Regions from separate parts of the Homo sapiens genome. Here regions 2, 3 and 4 are each linked to region 1. Evidence: promoter capture Hi-C in 16 types of primary human blood cells and fetal thymus (Javierre and others, 2016). All regions are on one chromosome and are shown on one strand. Each heading gives the region's core, a stretch centred on a gene start or on the middle of the fragment in contact. The rest is flanking DNA. Distances are from core to core; before and after follow the strand shown. Region 1 holds the start of TAFA5 (TAFA chemokine like family member 5). Region 2 has its middle 260 kb from the start of LINC01644. Region 3 has its middle 280 kb from the start of LINC01644. Region 4 has its middle 49 kb from the start of LINC01644.

Evidence for each region. The method cuts DNA at HindIII sites, captures the fragments that hold promoters and counts their contacts. A CHiCAGO score of 5 or more calls a contact.
Region 2: a fragment that was not itself captured here is called in contact with the fragment with the promoter of TAFA5 in region 1 in 2 of 17 cell types (total B cells and M2 macrophages); the score reaches 7.1 in total B cells.
Region 3: a fragment that was not itself captured here is called in contact with the fragment with the promoter of TAFA5 in region 1 in 3 of 17 cell types (endothelial precursors, naive B cells and total B cells); the score reaches 8.6 in endothelial precursors.
Region 4: a fragment that was not itself captured here is called in contact with the fragment with the promoter of TAFA5 in region 1 in 1 of 17 cell types (naive B cells); the score reaches 5.9 in naive B cells.

The regions. Positions count from the first base shown.
Region 1 is chr22:48,488,257-48,490,956 of GRCh38, reverse strand. It overlaps TAFA5 (TAFA chemokine like family member 5), which reads right to left and starts at 1,404. Exons shown (of 4, transcript NM_001082967.3): 1 at 1,253-1,404. The coding sequence starts at 1,364. The HindIII fragment of the contact is 4,041 bases long and covers 1-2,700 here.
Region 2 is chr22:47,230,193-47,232,892 of GRCh38, reverse strand. No RefSeq gene overlaps it. Among named protein-coding and RNA genes, the nearest start is that of LINC01644, 260 kb to the left of the region's middle. The HindIII fragment of the contact is 6,773 bases long and covers 1-2,700 here.
Region 3 is chr22:47,204,713-47,207,412 of GRCh38, reverse strand. No RefSeq gene overlaps it. Among named protein-coding and RNA genes, the nearest start is that of LINC01644, 280 kb to the left of the region's middle. The HindIII fragment of the contact is 4,357 bases long and covers 1-2,700 here.
Region 4 is chr22:47,436,600-47,439,299 of GRCh38, reverse strand. No RefSeq gene overlaps it. Among named protein-coding and RNA genes, the nearest start is that of LINC01644, 49 kb to the left of the region's middle. The HindIII fragment of the contact is 882 bases long and covers 998-1,879 here.

The sequences.
Region 1 (2,700 bases), core at 155-2,654:
GCTGTCCCAGGACTCCGGAGGCCGATCCCGCGGCTGCCCGGGTCTCCCTGGGCCACTGTGCTCTCATTTTGGCGACAGCGGAAGGATCAGATCGGACTGGGAGCTTGGAGGCCCGGGGCTCTGGAGGAGGTGGTGTCTGTGGAGGGAGGTTCGGTGCTGGCCTTTTTTTTTTTTTTTTGTAAAGAATCCATATTTTTCCATCACCTCCCGCGCCCATGGCAATTCTCCATGACAGGTGCTCCCCAGCACCCGTCCTATTCTCCCGCTGAAGACAAGAAGCCCGGAGCTCCCGGAGCTGAAGCCGACCAGCCCGCGCCATCTGGGGCCAGAGCCTGTGCCCGGGACGCTGAGCGGCCCCCACTTACCCCACCAGCCGCGAACGTGCCCCGGGATGCTGAGCACCCTCCCCAGCGCCGAGGCTGGAGTCTGCACCCGGGACTCCAACCACCCCTCATTCCACCCGCCTGGAGCCTCGGCAGGGGCACAGGCCACCCCCCACCCTTCACTCCAGGCAACAGGGAGCCCGCGGCGGTCACCCCCTACCCCAGCCCTCAGCTCACGCCCGGGCGCCCACTGGCCCGCACCACCCCAGCCCGCGCCCGCGCCAGTCCCGCCGGTCACCAGCTCGGGCCCCAGACACGACCCGAGAAACGTCCGCGGCCGCGGCGAGCCCCCTCCGGGCATCCCATCCCTCACTTCGCTTCTCTTTCCAGAAGGCGCCTGACGAGCCCGTTTCCCGGGAAAGCGGAAGCTCCAGCTGCTCCTCCGAGCCCAGGCTGGGCTCCTGCCTGAAGAGCTCCTCTCCGGGCTCGGCCGCCGCCTCCCCCCTTGTCCCGGGCTGAGGCACGGGGAGGGCGCTCCGCAGACACCCCGGCAGCGCCGCCCGCCCTCCGCGACCTGCGGCTGCCTCCTGAGCGCGCATCTCGGCCGGGAAGCCGCTGGCTGGGCTCCGACCGCCGGGCAGGGACGGGCCGCGCCACCCGGGGCCTGGAGCCCGGGCCCTGCCGGGGAGTCAGGGAAGGGAGGCTCGGGCCGGGGCGTCCGACCCCGAAGTGCTCGAGCGCCCGGAACCCGGGTGGACCCTCTCGCCCGCCCAGCGCAGCGTTGGACCGGCCGGGACTCGGGGGACCATGCGCCCGGCGCTCGTAACTCCGCGCCGACTCCGGGAGGCCCGCGGGGCGCCTGCCGGGGCCGGAGGAGGGGGTCCGGGGCCCAGAGGGCCGTGCCGGGGCCGGGGCCGCGCGGTACTCACTGCAGTAGGCGATGAGCAGGCTGGCCAGGATCATGAACGCCCAGAAAGTTGAGGACATGCTGGGCAGGGCGGTCGCATCTTGCCGGCTGCCGGTCCTGGGCGATGGCGCCATTGAAGCCGCGGCGCCCGCGCGGGGGGCAGCAGCGCGTCTCAGCAGCCGGCCCTGCCCGCGCCCCCGCGCCGGCCTCCACGTGCGGGCCCCGCGCGCGCCATCCTCCGCCGCCGCCGCCGCCGCGCCCGGGCCCCGGCCCACCGCGCCCCGCGCCGCGCCCGCGCCGCCCGCGCTCGCGCCCGCGCCCGCCGACCCCGCGCCGGCCCGCCAGGGGGACGCCGGCCCCGCTCTGGGCGTCACTGCGCGCCCCGGCTACGCGCGCCCCGGCATCCGCGAGAGAGGCGCGCGCCCGCCACCGCTGGGGGCTCCAGCCGCCCGCCGACCCGGGCCTGGCAGAGGGGACGCGGCGCCCAAGCCGCTCCTCCGGATGGCGACAGAGACGGCCTGACGCGCCCGCAGCCTGGGCCCCCCACGGGGAGGACGGCCGGGCCAGGTGAAGTTCGCGCACTTGGGCCTTCCGCGCCCCCATCCACCGCAGCCAGGGCCTGGAAGGCTGGGGAGGGGGCGGGGGCGGCAGACGCCTCCTAAGGTGGGTTCTGGGACTTGGATCCGGAGTTTATTCCAAGGAGAGGGTGCTCTGGGCCTGTTCCCTAGGTGTGCCCTGTTACCCAAAATCGGGCTTGTGCAGTGGGGTCCCTGAGTCCACTGGGAGCACAGCCTCAGACCCCAGCAGAGTCACCCTTCATCGGAAGCCCACCACCCTGAGGGCTCCTCCTCCACCTGGGGCGGCACTGCCAGGCACAGGCACGCACTTTCCCTCAGTCCTCTGCCCCACGATCACTCTACTCGGGCACCTCTGCCACTGCCTGGTCCTTGCTGAGCCATCTCCTGGTTCATCTCCCTGGAGTCCCTGCAGGACCGGCTCTCAGTGGCGTCTCCGGGCTCCCAGTCCCAGGACTGGTCCTATCCAGGTGGGTTTTCTGAGCAGGATGACAATGATCGCAATCTATTTTACCTGCATAGTCAACGATCATCTGCAAGACAGGTTCACTCCTATAACAAGCAAAGGATGGGGGGAAAATGAGCCTTGTAAGGACACAAGGACACTTTCCCCATCTCCAACCCTCCTAGTCATGTCCCCTCTGCACCTCCCTCTACAGCCCAGGAGATACGCTCCCCAGTCCAGGATGTCCAGATGGCCCTGCTGCCTGGAGAGGCTCTGGCCCCTGCCGGTAGCTGCCACAGCACCACCCCAAGCTCTGCCTTCCTGCAGGTTCGTGCACACGACTAATAGAACCCCTCCTCTGGAACTCACAAGATATTCTCCATCCTGCATAGGGCTGGGGGCTTGAGCACCCCAGGAGATTCTTTTGGCGCTGGAGACCCTTTTCTGAGG
Region 2 (2,700 bases), core at 135-2,634, 1.3 Mb after region 1:
CTCTGGCCCTGGCCCAGAACAGCCCCCGGTGGGTCTGTCGATACCAGAGCTGTCATCGTGCCCCAGGAGAAGCTGCCATCCAGCATGTGTGCCCGAGTTCTGGGTCGATGATCTTTGCTATAGCAACCAAGCATTTTGAATGGAAATGCACACTGAGTAATTGAAGGCTATTTTTTCTCTCTGCTAAAGCAAGAGAAATCCCATGTTGGCTGTCATTTATATGCAGGGTGCTCCAATCCTGTAAAGGAAGACCATGTTCCGAGAGAAAAACATTCCGAGGCAGAAGGGAACGGCACAAGCTGTGGGCCTGCCCTGCCAAGCTGGGGGCAATTCCTTCACACATATCATGCTGTTTAACTCCCACAACAGCCCTGTGAGGTGGGGACACCAAACCCCATTGCATATGCAAGGGACAGGAGAAGAGATGAAACCCACCCCTCATGGGCAGCAACTAAACAGTGGGATGGGATTCTGACCCCAAAGGTGTGATCCCACGCCATGTCTTATCTGCCTTGACTGCCGGGTTTCCCTCCCGTGAACTCCTCCTGACCTTCTCCTCTGCCCCCATTGGCCTCTCCACCTGGAGAACAGAGGATTTCCCTAAGGAGACACGTGAAGGTTAACAGCACAGGCCTCTAGGGGAGAAGAGCCCTGGCTGGAGTCCTGGCTTTACCTCTTTCCATCTAGGAGATGGGGGACACATTTCATCGTCTATCTGGAATCTTCATTTTCTTAGCTCCACAAAGATAGTGGAGCATGACCTTCTGGGGTTGTTGAGAGGATTAACGAGGTAAAAGCCCTGGCCCGTGGATGGCACTGGCAGGGACTCAGGAGGAGGTGGCATTGTAATCATCACAGCGCAGCTCTCTCTGGTTGGCACAGTGTGCTCTGAAGGCTCTCCCTTCTCCCTCCTGGCATCTTTCGTCTCCCAGTTGGGTTTCAGAATCCGTGACTGTGAAGACATGGCCTCTCATTTCTTTGCAGCTGCAGAGAAAGCTCCAACACGAAGCTGAGACAAGGAGTGAGGCCCCCAGAAGAATGGGGGTAGGAACAAGGAGAAGGGCTTGGGACCAGGCTTGACTAAGTCCTATAGCTTCGAGGGATGAAGATGGAGGTGACAGAGCTTGGTGGTTGGGGTAGTGGGAGAATCCAGGATGCTTAGTGTCATGGAAGCCAGGGGAGGAGGAGGCACCAAGATGGAGCATGTGTGCCAAGCCCTCAAGGATGCAAAAAGGCTGAGCAGTGAGAAGCCATGGGGAAGGAACTGGATTTGAAAATGGGGTGTGGGGGTTGGGGGCTGCTGGAGACCTCAGGGGAGCAGGGGTATGCAGGGCACAGAATATAGACCACTAAGCTGGGGAACCTTCAGTTACTGAGTGCAAGTTCCCAATGGGTGATAAGTTTCCTCCACGGTAACCCAGCCTGTTGTTATCCAGCTAATACTTGATTACCTCTGTTGATGGGCAATTCTCTCCTCCCAAGGACAATTGCCCTATTTGGGGACAGCTCTAAACAGTTCTTGGAAGGATTTTCCTTTTCCCTTAACTCAAGTCTGTTTCTCTTTATTGTCTTGTTTTGCAATAGTATTTTATTTTTTGAACATTTTCCAAGTGTTTAAATTTTGTCAAAAACATATAAAATCTAATATTTTATTCTAAAATTAATATTTATTTATAATGTTATTTATACTTAAAGATGAGTTGGTGGCTTAACAAGGAAGATCAAAAGACTTTCTCAATCCCCATCTGCACCATCAATGTCTAAAAATGCTAAAATGATGAAAGGGAGGAATCTACTCCAAGGAAACTGGGTGAAACTGTAAGTAAAAAACAAAAATATGACAAGAGCTATTTCCTTGGCTTTATAGATGTTGATATTTGCTTTATTGTGTCTTATGCAACAGAACATTTTCAAAGAGTATTATGCTCTCAGTTAAGTAGCGGCAGCACTTTGAGAGCAATCTTTCAGAGTTTAAAGAAAAAACGAATGAAATATTTTAAACATGGATGTGATGAGAGCTTTAGAAGCCAAAAATTGTTTGTTGCAGCTTTTCAAAGCAGAAATGAAAAAGCCAATGAAGCATCTTACAGAGTCGCCGCATCGCACTGGCTGGAGAAGCCTGTACAACAACCAAGAGAAGAGTATAGCCATGAACGTGGACATCGCTCATGGCTGCTGGCTGAAAAGTCAATGGAAGAAATCACAGCATTGCCACTTCCCAATGATATGGTAACTCACTGAATAAATACTGAGCTGCAAACATGAAGATCGAGTTAATATTTTGTTGGCAGAATTGTGCTTTTTCCTTACAAATGGAAGACTCTAGACATAGCTAGAGTTGCTATGTACTTGCATCGGTCTGGCATCAGCACTAACTTATCACCAAAGAAGGTCTTTTCTGTGACTTCTTGACAGCAAACACAAGTGATGTTGAAATATTCAGGCTGTGGAATGGCTTTTAAAATCTCATGATTTATTCTGGAACACTGTGCTGACATTTACATTGACGGTGTCAGAGCAATGCCCGGTGAAACTGGCCCAACACTTACACAACGAAGGCAGAGACAGCAAGCCACACTGGCAGTCACGGCGCTCATCATGGCCACATGCTTGTCCAAAAGAGGAAAAAATATGTCCTTGATGACAGTAAAAATTATTAATTTTGTTAAACTGCAGTGCTTGAATACACAACTTTTTAAC
Region 3 (2,700 bases), core at 42-2,541, 1.3 Mb after region 1:
TCTTCCATATTCTATGTGTGAAGAGAGTAGGAAATTAGCCTCTGTTTCTTGGAGGGAGGAATGGCAAAAGACTATGGTGGACGTTTTTTAAATCCACCACGTCATTGCTGGAAGAATGAGACCAGACCTCAAGGGAAGAAAACAAGGAAATTGTCTAGAAAAGCCCATGAAAGAGGCAGAAAATAACTGAAAGTGACTCGCAATTTTCTTTGCTACTTCCAGCCAAGAGCATTGTTCTCACCAGCCCAGCTGACTGACCCTTTAGGTGACAGAACCACATCACCCCAAACTTTTTCCCGGGCACAAAAGCATTCTGAGCTACATCCATGTGTGGGTCTTTGATACTAGAACCAGCACTTCCAAACCACCCGGAGTCCAACACCCATGATGCAGGGCAGGCAGGCCCACAATTGGGGCTTAGTCTGGGAGGGTCCTTGGCTTTACCCAGGAAAGAATTCAAGGGCGAGCTGGTGGTGTTAGACAGCAGTCTTTATTGAAGTGGTACCAGAGGTGCTGCTCCTTGCAGAGCAGGGCTATCCCATGGGCAGTGTGCCCAGAGCGGCAGTTCAAAGGCAGTGCTGCACCCACTTTTTTTTTTTTTTTTTTTTTTTTTTGTGAGACAGAGTCTTGCTCTGTCACCCAGGCTGAAGTGCAGCGGCACAATCTCGGCTCACTGCAACCTCCACCTCCCAGGTCCAAGCAATTCTCCTGCCTCAGCCTCCCGAGTAACTGGGATTACAGGCGCCCACCACCATGCCTGGCTAAGTTTTGTATTTTTACTAGAGACGGGGTTTCACCATGTTGGCCAGGCTGGTCTCGAATTCCCGACCTTAAGGTGATTTGCCTGCCTTGGCTTCCCAAAGTGCTGGGATTACAGGCGTGAGCCACTGTGCCTGGCCTGGACTCATATTTATACCCACTTTTAATTACATGTAAATTGAGGGGCACTTTATGCAGAAATTTCCAGGAAAAGGATGATAACTTCTGGGCTGTTGCCATGGAAAGGGGTGGTAACTTCCAGGAGTTGCCATGGCAATGGTAAACTGACATGGCACCGGTGGGTGTGTCTTATAGGAGGTGCTTTAGGCTCTTCCCTGTTTTAGCTAGTCTTCAATCTGGTCCAGAGTCCAAGCCCTGCCTCCTGCCTCCCGCCCTGGAGGGCACTTTCCTGCCACCTCTCCATTTTCCATTAAATAATGGAATAATTCAGTAATTCCATTGAATAATGGAAAATGATGAAAAGGACTGGAATATCCAGGCTGGAGTATCTTCCCAGGATTCTGAGGGAGGGACTGAAACCAAGCGAATTATAACATCTCCCCCCAAGAGTCACTCAGGGATCCTCCTGCAACAGGAGATGGTCACATTCCTTTAACTGTGGCCTCCAGCCTTGGGAGGTGTTATACGCCCATTTCACGGATGGAAAAATAGAGGCTCCAAAAGGCCTGGCAAGTTGTCCAAAGCCACACAACGTGGAGTGCAAGAGCCTGGCCGAGTTCGAGAGGCCCTGCCACCAGCCTGGGTTTCCACACCACCCACGTCCATCCCAGGCTTGCACAAACCACATCTGCCATGACCAGATGATGTCCACGGTAGGGACGGAGCCCGTGAATGCACAAACCCACACCAGGGGCTAAGCGCAGCTGTCCTGGGGGACCACAGCAGCCATGCTCTCCTCCCCGTCCCCTGCCTGCCATTGCACCACCGCCCACCACCTTGCAGACACTGCTGCAGAGGCCTGCCCCTGCCTAGAGATGGGCCATGGAGAGGGCACCTGGGCTGTGAGCACATTAGAGACAGGTGCCCACACCAAAACCCTGCAGAGCTCAGAGGGTCCCTGATCAGGGGAAGGCAGGGTCACGTCTGCCTTCCAGAAGTGTCCCTGAAGTGCCCAGGGAGGGAAAGTAGCCTCAGCAGGGAGGCTGGGGAAGGAGGGTGACATGGGGGAGCCTGGGAGGGAGGGTGACATCGGGGAGCCGGGGAGGAATGAAGAGGGGAAAGGACAAGTGGCCCTGCCACACAGGACCAAGCAGTGCGAGGAGACCCACAGGGCGGGGGCCCAGCCTTCAAGAGAGCCCAACAAAAGAACGGGGTGTGTGTTTGGGCCGAATGGGGCGAGTACCAGAGAGGGCTGCTCCAGGCTTGGGGGCTCCGTGATGTGTGAGCTTGGAGGTGGCCAGGAACGGAGGCCCCGTCAGGATGTCTCAGCTTCTGGGGGTGGCCGTGGGCTGAACAGGAAAGTATTTTGAGCGTCCCCACAACCCGGCAATGTTCACCAGCCCACTGGACACTCTGACCCCACCCCAGGCAGGCATCCCTCATCCCTCACCTGTGGCTCCCACTAGTAAGGAGGACCCAGCCACTCCCTCCACCTCTGCTCTCTCTCCGTCACCCCACATCTAACCCTGAGAGATCCCCTGCTCTCTCCGTCACCCCACATCTAACCCTGAGAGATCCCCTGCTCTCTCTAGCTCACCCCACATCTAACCCTGAGAGATCACCTGCTCTCTCTCCGTCACCCCACATCTAACCCTGACCGATCACCTGCTCTCTCTCCGTAAACCCACATCTAACCTGCCACCTGAGGGCTCGCTGCTCTAGTGTCCAGCCCGAGTTCCCAAGTCAAAGAATCCCATCAGTCTAAGAACACACAGTGAACACCCGCTGTGTGTCCAGCATCCTTCCAGGCCCTGAGATACG
Region 4 (2,700 bases), core at 189-2,688, 1.1 Mb after region 1:
AGTGTCTCACGCCTGTAATCCCAGCATTTTGGGAGGCTGAGATGGTCAGATCACGAGGTCAGGAGATCAAGACCATCCTGGCTAACATGGTGAAACCCTGTCTCTACTAAAAATACAAAAAATTAGCCAGGTGTGGTGTCACGTGCCTGTAATCCCAGCCACTCAGGAGGCTGAGGCAGGAGAATTGCTTGAACCCAGGAGGCAGAGGTTGTAGTGAGTCGAGATTGTGCCACTGCACTCCAGCTTGGGCGACAGAGTGAGACTCCATCTCAAAAAAAAAAAATCAAAATTAATTAAAAAAGACACAGGTAAGGATACAAAGCAGGTCTAACCCTCTTTGCACTTAATAAATGTTTATCAGAAGTGTAATTTTTATGACATGTCTTTTGGAAGAATAAGTGAAATGTGTTCTTAAAATATCTCAAAGTACAACCCCCTTCCCACCAAAAGGGGAAAAAACATAAGATTTAGTGGTGCATACAAACAGGTTATAAAATATGTTGACGTTTAAGTTAGCTGGGAATTAGGTAATTGATCATCAGGCAAATTGCTTTAAGTTTGCTGATTTTAGGTAAAGTGGTAGGCTCCCATCCTAACTATGCTGAATACCTTATTTTGAAAAGGAAAAAGAGAATTTGGAATGTAGAGGAATCTTGGATTGCGGGCATACTCAGATACATTTTGTGAAAGTTGTCAGAGTAAAAATGAAGTCACTTGGGTTTAAAGAAACCCTGACAGATAGAGCTGGGGAAGGCCATGCAGGGAGGGTTCTCACCCATAAATGCCGGATAACACAAACTATCACAAAAGACTGAGAAACACCCAACCTTGCACAAAGGCCATTGCAACCTTACACAAAACATACTTCTTCAAGACATCTGCCTAGCAACTGCATGTTCAGTCTTAGACTGGTCTCACCCTTGTCATTACTCTCTTAGCCAAGGATAACGATCTCAGAACAATTATACAATCCTCCTCACTTTTTCCTTAGAAAGCTTTGCCTTCCTTTACTTTTCTGAATATGTGCATCGCTTACTATGGAATGTGCATTCTCATTGCAATGCCCAATTCCTGAAGAAATATCATTTTATTTTAGAGAGCCTTTCTCTGTTTGTTATTTAGGTTGGCAATTTCCAGTGATAAGTGTTTTAAAAATCTAGAGCTTGAAAGAAAAGAAGATTGGAGACCTCCACTACTATGATATGGTAGATTAAAGATGGCTGCAAGTCTTTTGCTAGTCCTCCCATTTAGAGGAACAATTTATGCCCCCTTCCCCTTAAATCTGGGCGACCTCTGTGATACCTGACACTAAAATACAGCAGCCACCACACTATGCTGGTTTTCAGTCACAGTCCTTAAGAGGCTGGAATCTGTCACTTCTTGTGTCTTGGAATACTGGCTTTTGGCACCAAGCAACCATGTTGTGAGGAAGTACAATCAACCACGCAGAGGGACCCCTTATGGAGAAGAGCTGAGGCCCCAGTTGACAGTACCCACTGAGCTCCAGCACGGACTGAGCTGTCCTGGAAGTGGGTTCTCTAGCCCCATCAGGCTGCCCTTAGTGACTACATGGAACAGACATGAGCCATCCTTGCTGGGTCCTGCCCAAATTATGGACATGTAAGCAAGGGCAAAGTTTGTTAGTGGTATAAGCCACTAAGTTTTGTGGTGGTTTCTTAGGCAGCCACAATAGATAGTTGGAAAAACAGTGAAATGAGCTATGTGACAAATTCCTTTTCTGCTCCAAACACAATACATAAATGTGTTAAAACAACAAAAAAGACAAGTTATTTTTCTTTATTAATTTAATGTTAATTAAAATAATTTTCCAACATTTAAATTTTAATATTTAATTATGTACTATTTAATAAACAAAGCTTTTTTTAAAAAAAAAAAGTAAATAGCAGATTTAGAAGCAGTCCTGGGAAATCTCAGGTGCCAGTCAGTACAAGAGAACATGTGGGTTAGCAATGGGGAAATGAAACCCTGTGCTTCGGGAGTGCTAGAACAGACTTGTGACTTAAGGCTGTGTGTCAATGACTGCATTAGGTCTTGAGTGAAGATTGGAGGGTCCAATATTTAAAAGAGAGATAGATGTGGGCTCTCTGCAAAAAGCTTAGAGCAGGGAAGGATTGATCTGATTTATGAGAGGAAATAGTACAACTTTCCCCGAACCTTAGGAAACAGACAGGAAACAAGCTGCCTTGGGCAGAAACGGTTTCTCCCAGGTAGTGAGAACTCCAAGCCCAGACTGTGTGGACTCTAAATCTACACAGTGCTATGGTGGAAAACTCTGAAAGTAGAAATTAGGGCCCAAGTGGATTTAAAACCAGTGTATTAGTCCGTTTTGCATTGCTATAAAGGAATACCTGAGACTGGGTAATTTATAAAGCAAAGAGCTTTATTTGGCTCACAGCTCTGCAAGCTGTACAGGCATGGCACTAGCATCTGCTTGGCTTCTGGTGAGGCCTCAGGAAACTTTTACTCAAGGCAGAAGGTGAAGGAGGAGCAGTGGTGTCACATGGCAAAAGAGGGAGGAAGGGAGAGAGAGGAGGTGCCGGGCTCTTTAAAAAATGAGTTCTCATGTGAAATGATAGAATGAGAACTCACTAATCACCCAGGGGAGGGCAGCAAGCCATTCATGAGGGAATCTGCCCCCAGGACCCAAACACCTCCCATCAGGCCCACCTCCAACAATGG